Regions from separate parts of the Homo sapiens genome. Here region 1 is linked to region 2. Evidence: promoter capture Hi-C in 16 types of primary human blood cells and fetal thymus (Javierre and others, 2016). All regions are on one chromosome and are shown on one strand. Each heading gives the region's core, a stretch centred on a gene start or on the middle of the fragment in contact. The rest is flanking DNA. Distances are from core to core; before and after follow the strand shown. Region 1 holds the start of FBRS (fibrosin). Region 2 holds the start of MIR4519 (microRNA 4519).

What was found. The method cuts DNA at HindIII sites, captures the fragments that hold promoters and counts their contacts. A CHiCAGO score of 5 or more calls a contact.
Region 1: the fragment with the promoter of FBRS here is called in contact with a fragment that was not itself captured in region 2 in 2 of 17 cell types (fetal thymus and M0 macrophages); the score reaches 5.1 in fetal thymus.

What each region holds. Positions count from the first base shown.
Region 1 is chr16:30,653,874-30,660,067 of GRCh38, reverse strand. FBRS (fibrosin) reads right to left here and starts at 1,637. Exons shown (of 18, transcript NM_001105079.3): 1 at 91-1,637. The coding sequence starts at 549. It overlaps PRR14 (proline rich 14), which reads right to left. Exons shown (of 12, transcript NM_024031.5): 7 at 5,729-5,838; 8 at 4,854-5,439; 9 at 4,648-4,717; 10 at 4,475-4,566; 11 at 4,129-4,200; 12 at 3,655-4,036. The coding sequence ends at 3,757. RefSeq lists silencers at 452-501, 572-801, 1,622-1,801, 1,852-1,931, 1,962-2,221 and an enhancer at 922-1,371. The HindIII fragment of the contact is 16,259 bases long and covers 1-6,194 here.
Region 2 is chr16:30,871,893-30,878,770 of GRCh38, reverse strand. MIR4519 (microRNA 4519) reads left to right here and starts at 3,448; the gene lies at 3,448-3,505. MIR762HG (MIR762 host gene) reads right to left here and starts at 3,311. Exons shown (of 3, transcript NR_110942.1): 1 at 3,285-3,311; 2 at 2,653-2,741. It also overlaps a transcript of BCL7C not described here. RefSeq lists a silencer at 2,539-2,598 and enhancers at 2,919-2,968, 2,999-3,208, 2,518-3,272, 3,479-3,738, 3,273-4,027 and 1 more. The HindIII fragment of the contact is 2,091 bases long and covers 1,961-4,051 here.

The DNA of each region.
Region 1 (6,194 bases), core at 388-2,887, 220 kb after region 2:
TCCCCCCTCAACTCCACCCACTAGGGGCACTGCCCCCTCCTTGCTGCCCCTCGGAAACCCCCAAAGTCTCCTAGCCCCATTAGGCCCCACCTGCAAGGCCTCGAGGGTGGCGAAGCTGGCGATGGCGAAGCCATCGATCAAGTCCTCCTCCTCCTCTTCCTCCTCCTCAGGCTCCTCCTCGGCTTCGCCGTCGTCTGCGCCCCCCTCCTCCTCCTCCTCCTCCTCTTCCTCCCCGCGGCTGCCCGAGCCGGCAGGCCGCTTCCGAGCTCGGGGTCGCGGGGGTCGAGGTCTCGGACGGGGCCGCCGGCGTCTCGGGCCCCCAGGCCGCTCTCCAGACGAAGCTGACGACCAAGGCCTGGCGGGCGGCGGCGGCGACGACGAGGACGAGGAGCCGCGCGGGGCGGCCAACAGGGCCCGGGGCGCGTCGCCGCCTGGACCTCGGCGGCGCCGCTGCTCCCGGTCTCGGTCTCGGCGCGAGCAGCGCCGCCGTCGGCGCTCCCCCTCTGCTGCCCAGCCCGGACCCGGGGCCGCGGCCGCTGCCGTCTCCATGGCGACCGCCCTCAGCGCCGCATCCGGAGGCGGCGGGGCCCGAAGCGGCCTGTCCGCAGGCCCGGGGTCGCAGGCGCGGCGCTGGCGGCTGCACAGTGACGAGAGGGCCACGGCTTCTCCTTTAAAGCCGGATCTGCTGGCCCCGAGCTTGCCCCAAGGCCACGGCCCGGGGAGCCGGCGCCGCCCCCGGGGCGACAAGCCCGAGGGCCCCCCCTGCGGGCTCGGCGGGGCCGCGACGGCGAAAACGGGGCGGCCGTCCCTTTAAGGCGAGGCCCCAAGTTGTCCAGCTCCCGGCCCCTTTAAGACGACCCGACAGTGTCCGGCGGCCTAGTGCGGTGGCCACCCCCTGCCAGGGGTCGATGCAAGTCTCCCCGAGGAAGAGGAAGGGCCACCCCTTTAAAAGGGGCCGAAAGCTCGCCCCGAAACGCAGACCTCCCCTTTAAAAGTGTCTCAAGTCCTCCGGCTCAAAGAGGCCACCCCTTTAAGGAGTCCAGGGTCCTTCTAACAGCAGGCCGTCCCTTTAAGGGCTCGGAGTTAGTTTCTAGTCCTCCACAAGCGGCCACTTCCCCTTTAAGTTGAATTTAAAAGACTTCTTGTGTGTGGGGGAGGAGGACGTAAAGAAAAACCCCACTCGCCCCAGTTCTCCCAACGGCACAGTTCTCAATTTGTCAGCGTCTGCTCGGCGGCTTCCCCTTTAAGGCTGGCGTTGCAGTCCGCCGAGTTCAGTGGCCACCCCTTTAAGGAGATTTAAAGGGGCCTCCTCCGGGCCCAGCTCCTCCAGCCTCCGCCTCCGGTCGCCATGAAAGGCGCGAGGCGGGGCGGGGCAGCGAGGCCAGCCCTCCAAAGCCCCGGATGTGAGGCAACGGTGACGGGTACAGCTCCCCTGTCCGCCGACATAAAAGTCTCTTCCTCCTTTCCTCCGTCTCTGTCCGACTTGGGCCTTAGGGGATCCGGAACGGCCGATGGGCAGCGGGGGAGCTCCAGCACAAACTCCTGTTGTCTCCTTTGGAGTCTTAGGGCGCTTCTCCGCCAGGACTTCCCTACCCCTCCTCCCTCTTCCTCCTCAGCCTACGCCTCCTTCCTCTCTCGGCCTCCTCCCACGCTCCGCCCCCTTCCCCTCACCCCCAACGGGCGCAGTCGTTGATAGGCTGGGAGGGCTACGTCAAGGTGAGGGGCGGAGCCAAACCCGAGGGAGTGGGTGCATGTAACCGCCCTCAAATCTTGGATTGGGTTACGTCGGATTGGCTCCGCCCTTCCCCCCAGTCTTGTGACTCGACTGGTTAGAAGTAGGTGTTTGGGGCGGTTACTACAGGGCCCCGCCTCTTCCTGCTGTTTGTTTATTGGCCGGTCTCCTGATGGCGTCGAGGCGAGGGGCGGAGACGCGGGGCCTGAGGCGTTGGGGGCGGTTGGCCGCCGGGGGGCGCGCGGCTGCAAGAGGTTCCGTTCCACAGCCAGTTAAGTCATCGCCGCCTTTCCGCCGCTCGGCGCGGCCCACAGACAGCCTGGCGTCTCGCGCACGCGCGTGGCGGCGCCGCCGTCAGGCTGGCTGCTTGCGAGTCGTTCCGCGGCCCGGGGTGGCCCGAGCGGCCGCGTGCTGTGCCTGCGCCTGCGCCGGCCGCACTAACAGGCAGCCGCGTCCCTTCCAGGCGCGGCTGCTGGCAGCGGTCCCGAGTGCTAGCAATTCGAAAACGCCTTGCACCTGCATGAGCGCTTCTCCGCGTTTGTGACTGCGTTTGGTAATAATTCCATGAAGGAGATGCTGTCAGCCCCATTTTACTGGGACGGAAAGGAATGCGCGCACAGACGGGCTGGTAGTCTCCTAGCCACGTCTATGTCAGCCACTGCCCTGTGATGCCTCTCAGTTATGAAAGATGCACCCCACTGCTCAATGTGACTGGCTTAAAAAAAAAGAGACAGCCATTTCTGGCCTTCGGTTGCCCGGGTTACCGTTTTAAAAGTGGACAGCGCGCTGACATGCCTGCCTTGCTTTCTCGTCCATAAAATGACTAATTCCCTGTCGCAGGGACATGTGCAGGTCAAGCACCTATGACAGTCGTCGTGAGTGCTTCATTATGGCCCATTACTCTTAGCTCTTTGTTTTGTTTTGTTTTTTTGGGGGGGACAGAGTCTGGCTGTGTTCCCTAAGCTGGAGTGCAGTGGTGCGATCTCAGCTCATTACAACCTCTGCCTCTCGGGTTCAAGTGAATTCTCCTGGCTCAGCCTCCTGAGTAGCTGGGATTACAGGTACACACCAAGACACCCAGCTAATATTTGTATTTTTAGTGGAGACGGGGTTTCACCATGTTGGCCAAGCTGGTCTCGAACTCCTAGGCTCCTGTGATCCACCTGCCTCGGCCTCCCAAAGCGCTGGGATTACAGGCGTAAGCCACCGCACCTGGCCTAGCCGTAGCTCTTGAATCCAGCAGCAGGTCCTGGCCTGCATGTTAGCAGGAATTCAGGGCCATCTTGATCTTCAAGGCCTTGACCCACTATAGGCCTTTCAGTCTCCTTGATATAAATGAATTGGGAGAACCCAGACCACGGTCTAGGGTCACAGTATCATCTGGCACTGATTCAGAAGTGTCCCTCCACACAGGAGAATCCTCTAAGCAAGAGAGTATCTCTAGGCCGGGCATGGTGGCTCATGCCTGTAATCCCAGCACTTAGGGAGGCCAAAGCAGGCGGATTTCCTGAGGTCAGATGTTCAAGACCATCCTGGCCAACATGGTGAAGCCCAGTTTCTACTAAAAATACAAAAATTAGCGGGTGTGGTAGCGCACGCCTGTAATCCCAGATACTTGGGAGGCTGAGGCAGGAGAATCGCTTGAATGAGGGAGACAGAGGTTGCAGTGAGCCAAGATCGTGCCATTGTACTCCAGCCTGAGTGACATGAGCGGAACTCCATCTATATCTATCATCTATCTATCTATCTATCTATCTATCTATCTATCTATCTATCTCAAGTGACCACTTCACCCCCTCCCTGTACTCTGTACCCAACCCCTGTCACCATCTCTAGCACCAGCCCCAGTTCCCAGACCTTTGGGGGTCAACGTAGAAACATCAGCCAAATCAATCTTAAACTCAGCTAGAGATACAAAAGAATCAGAAACATATCGAAAACTTTACTAGAAATATAGAGAAAAAAAAATAACTGCCTGGGAGGTTTCCTGTCCCTTCAGGATGGATGACCAACAGATGGGGCACCTAGGTCCAGTGGGGCTGCTCCCGATCTACTGTTTCTTCCTCCAGGAGCAAGGCATCTAGCTCCTCCAGCCGCTGCTGGAGCAGGGGGCCCACATCAGGGCTGGGGGCCACATTGGGAGGAACAGTCCTGCCCCCTGCAGCCCGGACCCCACGGGACGGTCTTCGTGATCGAGGAAGGCTGCTGTCCCGAAATTCCACAGCCCGCCGGAGCTTCCTTGAGCTGGTGAAAATCAGAGTCCCATTGCGCTCCCGGGGTTCCTCAAAGATGGTCTCAAAGGTCCTGAACAAGGCAGGGAGAGGAGCTGGTTTTATCAGGGTGCTCCACAGCTCCAGATTTCCCTCTGCCACCCTCTAGCCTTCCAAGTGTCTCACCTCCTGGTTGTGGGTGATTGGTAATTCTTGTTGGTGTAAATTTCTTCCAAGCTGAACTCCTTCTTGTTCAACCTGTGAGCAAAGAGCAGAGGCCACTGAGAAACCTTGGGCCAGTGGGGCCTGAAGGGACAGGTAAGGCCTGGTCTGTATTTCAGTTTCTGGGACATGTCAGGGCCAGGAGTGCTACATAAGGCAGACAGGCAATTTTGAGCACAAACCATCCCCACACCGAATTGAATCTTTCAGGCTGGACTGTGCTCCCTGAGGGGAGACAAAGCTATACTTCAGGGGACATAAGCCTGCATCTGTTTGGCCAAGATGGCTCAATGCCCAGTGAGCCCCTCACCTGATTGGTCGAGGCAGTCCCATTGGTGTAAGGTTTAGCTGAGGACGGGCTGGTGTTCTGCGTATTCTGAATCGAGAAACCTTTCCCATGGTCTGCAAAAATGGGGCAGAGGGTGAAAGAGTGACATGGGCTCAGGCCCCCACTAGTCTCTTCTACCCGATCTGAATGCCTACCTTGGTCTCAGGTTCTGAAAGCACCTGGTCCTTTGAGGCTCTTGGCTCCTTCCCTTTGGTTGAACCCAACCTGCCAAGAAGGTCAAGGCTCAGGGACAAACAGGATTCACTGCATTATCCCCCGTCTCCTGCCCACTGGATACTCAGGGAAGGAGGCTGGGACCAGGCTGCAGCCAGGCTTCAAGGGGGTTTTTTGAGAGCACTACCTGGGTTCTGCTGGTTCGGAGAAGGAAGTGGATGCCGTGGACGAGCAAGATGTGGTGAGAGAAGGGGAGGCTCCCACTCCTCCGAGAGGGAAGACCTCTTTCCGGAGACAGGGCCGAGGGGGTGGCGGGGCTCGGGCCATTTCCCCACCACCCACAGTGTGCCGCCGCGGCCGTGGTCGGCTTGGTTGGGGTGGAGCAGGTGGCCAGGTGCAGGTACCTGGGCCAGGGGGCCCCAGATCAGGGCAGGAGTAGCTTCGGCCCAGAGAGGGCTTAGGGAGAAGTGCTGGGGTATTGTGGTCCTGAGTTCGCCACTGGCGGATTGGGGGCCGGGGGCTGACAGACGCAGTGCCCTCAGCAGCCCCAGACTGCTCGGCCTCTGAGATGGCGATCTTCAACTCCAGCTTCATTGGGGGGGACGGGGGTGGGGGCTGTGGGGTTTTGTTGGGCGTGAGGAAGATGTCAGCAAAGCTCTCCAGCTTGGAGCGGACGGAACGGAAGAGCGGGGCCAAGCCCCAGGGACTGAGGCGGGGGCGTAAAAGGCTGGACGGTGGTGGGGTGGATGGGAGCTCCAGAGCAGGATCTGGGGCTGAGGAAAGGAGAGGGTCACAGGTGGATATTCCTTGGCTGCAGTGTCTCAGCCCCTCCCCACATGCTCAACTTTGTGCACAGGGGAATTAGCCCACCCTTAAAACACTAAGTTCTGCATTTAAGAATTGAACTTCAAGCCTCTGACATCAACATCCCATCTTTATATACCAAGCCCTGCCCTGGGAGGTGGCTTAAGCCCTATCCCCAACTCTGTACCTGACACTTCCAAGCTCAACTAGGATGTCCCAGACACCCAAGTCTCATCCGATCTCTACCCAAGTCCTTACCTGTTGGTGGGCTCTCCAGAGGGTCTGCAGGCAGAGCAGATGGCTGGAATGGGGGTTCTAGGTCCCCAGGTGGAGGCGTTGGCTGGCGAACTATCCTCATGGGCTCAGCTCTGGGGTGAAGGGCAAGGTAAAGGCTAGGGGAACTTCCAGGTATCCCACCTGAGCCAGCAACTCCCCTATCCCTTAAGGCTTCTTCTTTTTTTTTTTTTTTGAGACAGAGCCTTGCTCTGTGGCCCAGGCTGGAGTGCAGGGGCACAATCTCAGCTCACTGCAGCCTTGAACTCCCAGGCTCAGGCAGTCCTCCCACCTCAGCCTCCCAAGTGGCTAGAACTACATGCATGGACCACCACATCCAACTAATTTAAAACAATATCTTGTCTGAGCATGGTGGCTCTCGCCTGTAATCCCAGCACTTTGGGAGGCCGAGGTGGGTGGATCACCTGAGGTCAGGAGTTCAAGAGCCTGG
Region 2 (6,878 bases), core at 1,757-4,256:
CCCGGGTTCAAGTGATTCTTCTGCCTCAGCCTCCTGAGTAGCTGGGATTACAGGTGCGTGCCACCACGCCCAGCTAATTTTTGTATTTTTAGTAGAGACTGGGTTTCACCATGTTGGTCAGGCTGGTCTCAAGCTCCTGACCTCGTGATCCACCCACCTCGGCCTCCCAGAGTGCCAGGATTACAGGCGTGAGCCACCACGCCCAGCCACCCCAGACATTTTTGTTTTTTTTGAAATAGAGTCTCGCTCTGTCGCCCAGGCTGGAGTGCAGTGGCACGATCTCGGCTCATTGCAACCTCTGCCTCCTGGGTTCAAGTGATTCTCCTGCCTCAGCCTCCCGAGTAGCTGGGACTACAGGCGCGTGCCACCACACCCAGCTAATTTTTTTAAATTTTTTTATTTTTAGTAGAGACGGGGTTTCACCGTGTTAGCCAGGATGGTCTCAATCTCCTGACCTTGTGATCCGTCTCCCTCGGCCTCCCAAAGTGCTGGGATTACAGGCATGAGCCACCACACCCGGCCCCACCCCAGACATTTTACATTGGTATCATGTGCAACCTGGGCCCTGGGATTTTTTGTTTTGTTTTGTTTTTTTGAGTCTTGAGTTTAGCTCTATCGCCCAGGCTGCAGTGCAGTGGCATGATCTTGGGTCACTGCAACCTCCGCCTCCCAGGTTCAAGCCATTCTCGTGCCTCAGCCTCCCAAGTAGCTGGGATTACAGGTGCCTGCCACCACACCCGGCTAATTTTTGTATTTTTAGTAGAGATGGGGTTTCACCATGTTGTCCAGGCTGGTCTCGAACTCCTGACCTCAGGTGATCCACCCGCCTTGGCCTCCCAAAGTGCTGAGATTACAGGCATCAGCCACTGCGCCCGGCCAAGGGCCCTGGGATTTTTACAAGCTCCTCAGGTGATGCTAACATGCTGCAAAGCTTGGAGCTGTGAGCCTGTGAATGTGATTTGTTTGGCTTACATGGTGTTGAACATGTTGGCAACATTAAAATCAAGTGATTTCATATAAAAATCTGGACTAGGCTGGGCGCGGTGGCTCACGCCTGTAATCCCAGCACTTTGGGAGGCCGAGGCGGGTGGATCACGAGGTCAGGAGATCGAGACCATCCTGGCTAACACGGTGAAACCCCATCTCTACTAAAAATACAACAAATTAGCTGGGCGCGGTGGCGGGTGCCTGTAGTCCCAGCTACTCGGGAGGCTGAGGCAGGAGAATGGCCTGAACCCAGGAGGCGGAGCTTGCAGTGAGCCGAGATAGTGCCACTGCACTCGGGCCTGGTGAAAGAGCGAGACTCCGTCTCAAAAAAAAAAAAAAAATCTGGACTCAGGCCGGGTGACGTGCCTCACACTGTAACCCCAGCACTTTGGGAGGCTGAGGCAGGAGGACTGCTTGAGCCTAGGAGTTGAGGCTACAGTGAGCTATGTGTTGCTACCCTTCAACCTGCGCGACAGAGCAAGATCCTGTCTCTACCAAAAATAAAAAAAGAAATCTGGACTCCAGCTACCCTTGAAAGCAGATATTCTGAGATACTGAGTTTGCCTCCTGGAGTGGTCATGGGGCGGAGGTTGGTGGGGTAGGGGGGTAGGGGGTGCAGAACACTGACTGCCCTGGGGGCGGAGTCTCTGCCCTTCAGTCCCCGCAATCCCTACCGCTCCCTGGTGTTCCACTCTCCTCCTTGCTGTTCACTTGCATGGCCTCCAGGCTAATGGCTGAGTTTTGCGGCCAGGCATTTCAGGCCTCCCAGCCTTGGCCTCTGCTCACCTTCTCCACCTCCTCACTCCCTGCTCTAGTCATCTTCATCTCATGTCCTGCCCTCCAGCCACATGGGCTTCTTGGTCCCTTCCACACCTGTTTTTGCCCATGGAGTTCTCCCACCAAGTTCCTTATGGTAGAAAAGCCCCTGCTGGATTTGGCCCCTGCCCACCTCTCCTGCCCCTTTCCCCAAGCTTTCTTCCAACTCATGCATAGAACTTCTACCACAAGGAAGCTGGCCAGGCTGTTAGCACTCCCGTTCCCTCTGTCTGTGAAGCCCTTTCCTTCCCTCCACCCTCCCCTTCTCTCTCTTATCTCAGGCTTTGGGTTTGATTTCACCTCCTCCAAGGTTCCCTGACCTTCAAACTAGGTCAGGTCCCTGGTTAGTCACTATACTTCCTCTTTCTCACCTCCTTCATCTCACTTCCCCTGCTAGAATAAGGCCACATCTGTCTCATAATCTCTGTCTTCCTAGGGCCTAGTGTGGTGCCTGGCATACAGTAGGTGCTCATTAATGATAAATGAATGAAAGCAAGCACATCTCCCTTTCTCTACTGGCAAAATCCTAATCCTTTTCTGGTTACATTTCTCCTGTAGCATCCAATTCTGTTCTCGAGACCCAAAAGATCCCTGAGGTCCTGTGATCAATGGAGTTTTAGCTCAGGTCCATTTCACAGTGGGCCCAGGGGATCCCCAGATTCATCCGTGGTTATTTCCCCAGGCACAGAGTGAGTGCACTGGTGGCACAGGCATACCCAGCAAGTGGCATAATCCCCCCCATTAGTTAACTGGGTGTCGCTGTGCATGGCTGTGAAGGCAGGGATGCACCTGGCTGGTGACCCCAGAACCCCTCCGGGTACGGCACAAGGGCAGAGCCCAAGAACTTACTTTCTGTCCTCTTGCATTTGCCTGTGGATTTGCAGTTGGTAATGGCGTTCTTGCCCGGCCCTCCTTTGTTCCTCCAGGCAGCCAGGCAGCTGTGGCGTAGTGAAAGGGCAGGATGCGGGATAGGAATGGAGTTATTCCTGATTCAGACTGATTTGCTCTAACTGTGATTTGGGGCAAGTCCCTTCCCCTGTCTAGACCTTAGCTGGCTGCCGCATCTAAAAAATGGAGCCAATAATCTTTTCCTCGTCTTTGGGGTCATCCATCTTTCAACCACATCAGGAGCAGCGGGAACCAAGTGCAGAGGATGGCCTTAAAAGCAGTATGGGAACCAAATTTTTGTAAAGTAAATATTTTCAACCTTTATATTTTGGAATCACCAGCGGTATTTATTACGTGCACTCTAGGAAATGGAGGCAATGCAATGCCAAAAACAGAAAGTAAAACTGCTGTCCTGTGCCGCGGCCCGGTGGAGGTTTTAATGTCTGTATCTTAAGATCTGGTGAGGGCACGGGTAGGTGCGGCTGGACTGAGTGAAACCAGCCCCGCTGGGCGCCTGGGCCCTTGTCTCAGGGCTGTGCTCGCAGTGGAGGCATCTGCAGCTCGGCACCCAGAGGCCCCGCGACCCTTCCAACCTTTGTGACGCTCCGCGGAGACAAAGGCCGGCGGCGCAGCCTTGGGAAGGGTTAAGGCCACAGACGCAGCCCTGCGCGTGCTAGAGCGGCCGGTGGCGGACTTCCGGTTGGGGCGCGGGCGCGCGCCGCGTGTTCCCGACCCGCCGAGGCTGAGACCTCGGGCAACCTCAGCAGTGCGCAGGGCTGCACTGTCTCCGTCTGCGGCCTGCAGTAAGCGGGTAGGGGATATGTCGCGTGGCCTCGCCTGGTCTGCGGCGGGAAACTCGCATCTAGGCCAGACCCTCCCGCAGGGTCCGCACTCGCGATCTGGGCTGTGGGCAGCATCGTGGCCCCTCGGGGCGTTATAGGGGCGTGAGGATCCCGGGCGAGCTGGGGGCGGGCGGCTTCTTCAGCTCCCTTGCGCCATGGAACCCACTGTATGCCCGTTATGCAGTCAGGAAAGATGAGGCCGGGAAGGAGGGCGTTACGCTGCAACCCCGGAGACCAGCTGTCCCTCGCGTTGCCGCAGTCGGCAGAGGCGTGGCCGGAGCCATTCCCGGTCTCCAGTGCGGCTGCAAGAGCGGGCGCCCGAGGGCGTTCTGCTCCGGGCCTCCACCCGCGAGCTGACCGTGTCAGGCGCGCCACACACGGCGCTTCTCATTCTCTCTCCACCTCGCGAGGCAGAAGCTGCCGTTCCCGTGTCACAGACAGAAAAACAGTCTGGGGTGATTTATCCGGAGTCAAGACTCAGGTCTGTGGCTCAGTCGGGAAGGATAGAAACCCAAGCTTCCTCCGAATGGTTCAGAGACCCGACCAAGTTAAATAATAATGGCCCTGGCTCAGGGGTCTTTAAGTCTTCCCCCCGCCCTCCCCTTTTGTTTTTGTTTTGTTTTGAGACCGCCTCACTGTCCCCCAGGCTGGAGTGCAGCGGTGCGATCTCCGCTCACTGCAGCTTCGACCTCCCGAGGGCTCAGGTGATCCTCCCACCTCAACCTCAGGAGTGTCTGGGACTACAAACACGCGCCACCACGCCCGGCTAATTTTTCTGTTTTTTGTAGAGTCAGGATCTCGCTATGTTGTCCAGGCTGGTCTGGAACTCCTGGGCTCAAGCGATCCTCCTGCCTCGGCCTCTGAAAGTGCTGGGATTACAGGCATGAGCCACCGCACCTGGCTACCCTTTAATTAACTCAAGGAGTTTAATAATTGAATTTAGGCTGGGCTCAGTGGCTCACGCCTGTAATCCTAGCACTTTAAGAGGCCACGTCGGGCAGATCACTTGAGGTCAGGAGTTCAAGACCAGTCTGGCCAACATGGTGAAACCCTGTCTCTACTAAAAATACAAAAATTAGACGGATGTGGTGCCACACACCTGTAATCCCAGCTACTCGGGAGGCTGAGGCAGGAGAATCCCTTGAACCCGGGAGGCAGAGGTTGCAGTGAGCCAAGATCGCACCACTGCACTCTAGCCTGGGCCACAGAGCAAGAATCTGTCTCAAAAAAAAAAAAAAAGGTTTGACACCTATACCTTCCTCTGTGTGTGTGTGTGTGTGTGTATACATATATCTATATATATATGTATATAGAGAGAGGAGGAAAAATTATATAATTTTTCTATATGTGTGTGTGTGTATATATATCTGTACAATTTTTTTTTTTTTTGAGACAGTGTAGCTCTGTGGCCCAGGATGGAGTGCAGGGACTCGATCTCGGCTCACTGCAACCTCCGCCTCCCAGGTTCAAGCGATTCTCCTGCCTCAGCCTCCCGAGTAGCTGGGATTACAGGCTGCTGCTACCATGCCTGGGTAATTTTTGTATTTTTAGTAGAGACAGGGTTTTGCTATGTTGCCCAGGCTGGTCTGGAACTCCTGAGCTCAAAAGTGATCTGCCTGCCCCAGCCTCCCCAAATGCTGGGATTACAGGTCTGAGCCATCACACCCGGCCCATATATACGTATTTTAAAATAACACCTTTACTGAGAGAGATGACTCACACACCATACAACTCACCCATTTAAAGTGTACAGTTCAATGATTCTTAGTATCTTCACAGTTTTGCAAATATCACCACAGTCAATTTTAGAACATTTTCATTACCCCTAAAAGAAACCATACCCATTAACAGTAACTCCCAAGCCTTCCTCCCACTACAGCTCTAGACTACTGCAAATCTACTTTCTGTCTCTATAGAGTTGATTATTTTGGACATTTCATATTAGGGCTTTATGTGGCCTTTTTTGACTGAGATAACCTTTTTGTTGTTGTTTTTAACAAAATCAACTCCTTGAGCTCAGAGCCCTGGCCTATAATCATAGCCAGCTAGAACTGAACAGCATTGTTTTGGTTTTATTGTATCTATTTTTACCACTCTTGGGTACATGATAATTTCTCATTTATGGCAGTGGTTAAAGTTTCCTTTTGAATACACCTAGTTCCATCAAAACGTGAGTTGATAATTTTTAAAGAACAAGATTAAGTAAACAGAAGTAGAGGTGGTCCACAAATTTGTCAGAGGTTGGGAAGATGGGATGTGAATGAAGTTTGGCAAACACTGGATTGTCTGATTTACGGTTCTCCAGGTCATCATTTGAAAACCACCCTCACCTTATTCTTTCATTGCATTTTCCTGACAACTCCTGTAAAGAAGTGCATGATTTTACCGATGAAGAAACAGGTTCAGAGAAGTCAGGTACAATTACTTGTCCAGTGTCACACAGCTAGTGACAGAAGCTAGGCTTAACCAAGTCTGTCTGATTGCCAAAACTACCTACTTACCAAGTCTGGAAGTAGGATAGGGGGTGGGGAATGGACTAGCAGGCTTGAGAGGGGACTCTGGCCACTACCCAAAACATGCGGGCACCAGGCTGCCTGAGTTGTTTTGGGTACCTCTTCTAACAAATATTCAAATATTTCTATGAAACAATTTATGACTCTAAACAGAAATCCCATCTCATTTGCCACTGGGGCTTTCACCCTCTCTCAACGGCACACCGCAGTTCAGGAAGTGCTGCCTGCCTGGAGAATGAGGGTGTGTGTGAACGTGCGTGCTGGTGGTGAGGAGAGTCTGATCTCTAGTTCATCTTGGTTGCTACTGGCATCACTTTCCAAGCCCACAGGGGTCCCTTACACTCCATGACTTCTGCCCTATTCCACCTGTGGGCACCAGAGTCTCTAGGCTGGCTGGGATTACCTGCATATAGGGTCCCATGTTTCTGGAATGTCAGGCCGCCACCTGCTCTCAGGACTGACCACTTTCCTGGAGCACAGCCGCAGGGTATTCACCATGACTCCCTCTCTCCCCTTCCTGGCCAAGGACTTTCCCACCTCTTGCCATCATCTTCATCAGAACTCTGCCTCCTCCCTCAGACCCTATTCCTCATCTTATTCTTTCCCTGTGGGCTTTAACTGACCATTAAATTCAGAACCCATTCCAATAACACGAATATCCTTTTCCAGAGAGAGCTTAATTTTATACCTTAATTTTTGAAATTATAGCATATAGAAGATAAGCAAAACAACCAGGTCCTGCCATGCTCTTGTTCAACACCGATTTAACTCAGTCCACCTCTCTCACAGCTGTGCAATTCAACTTGACCCAAACTTGAGGCTAAGCACCTCC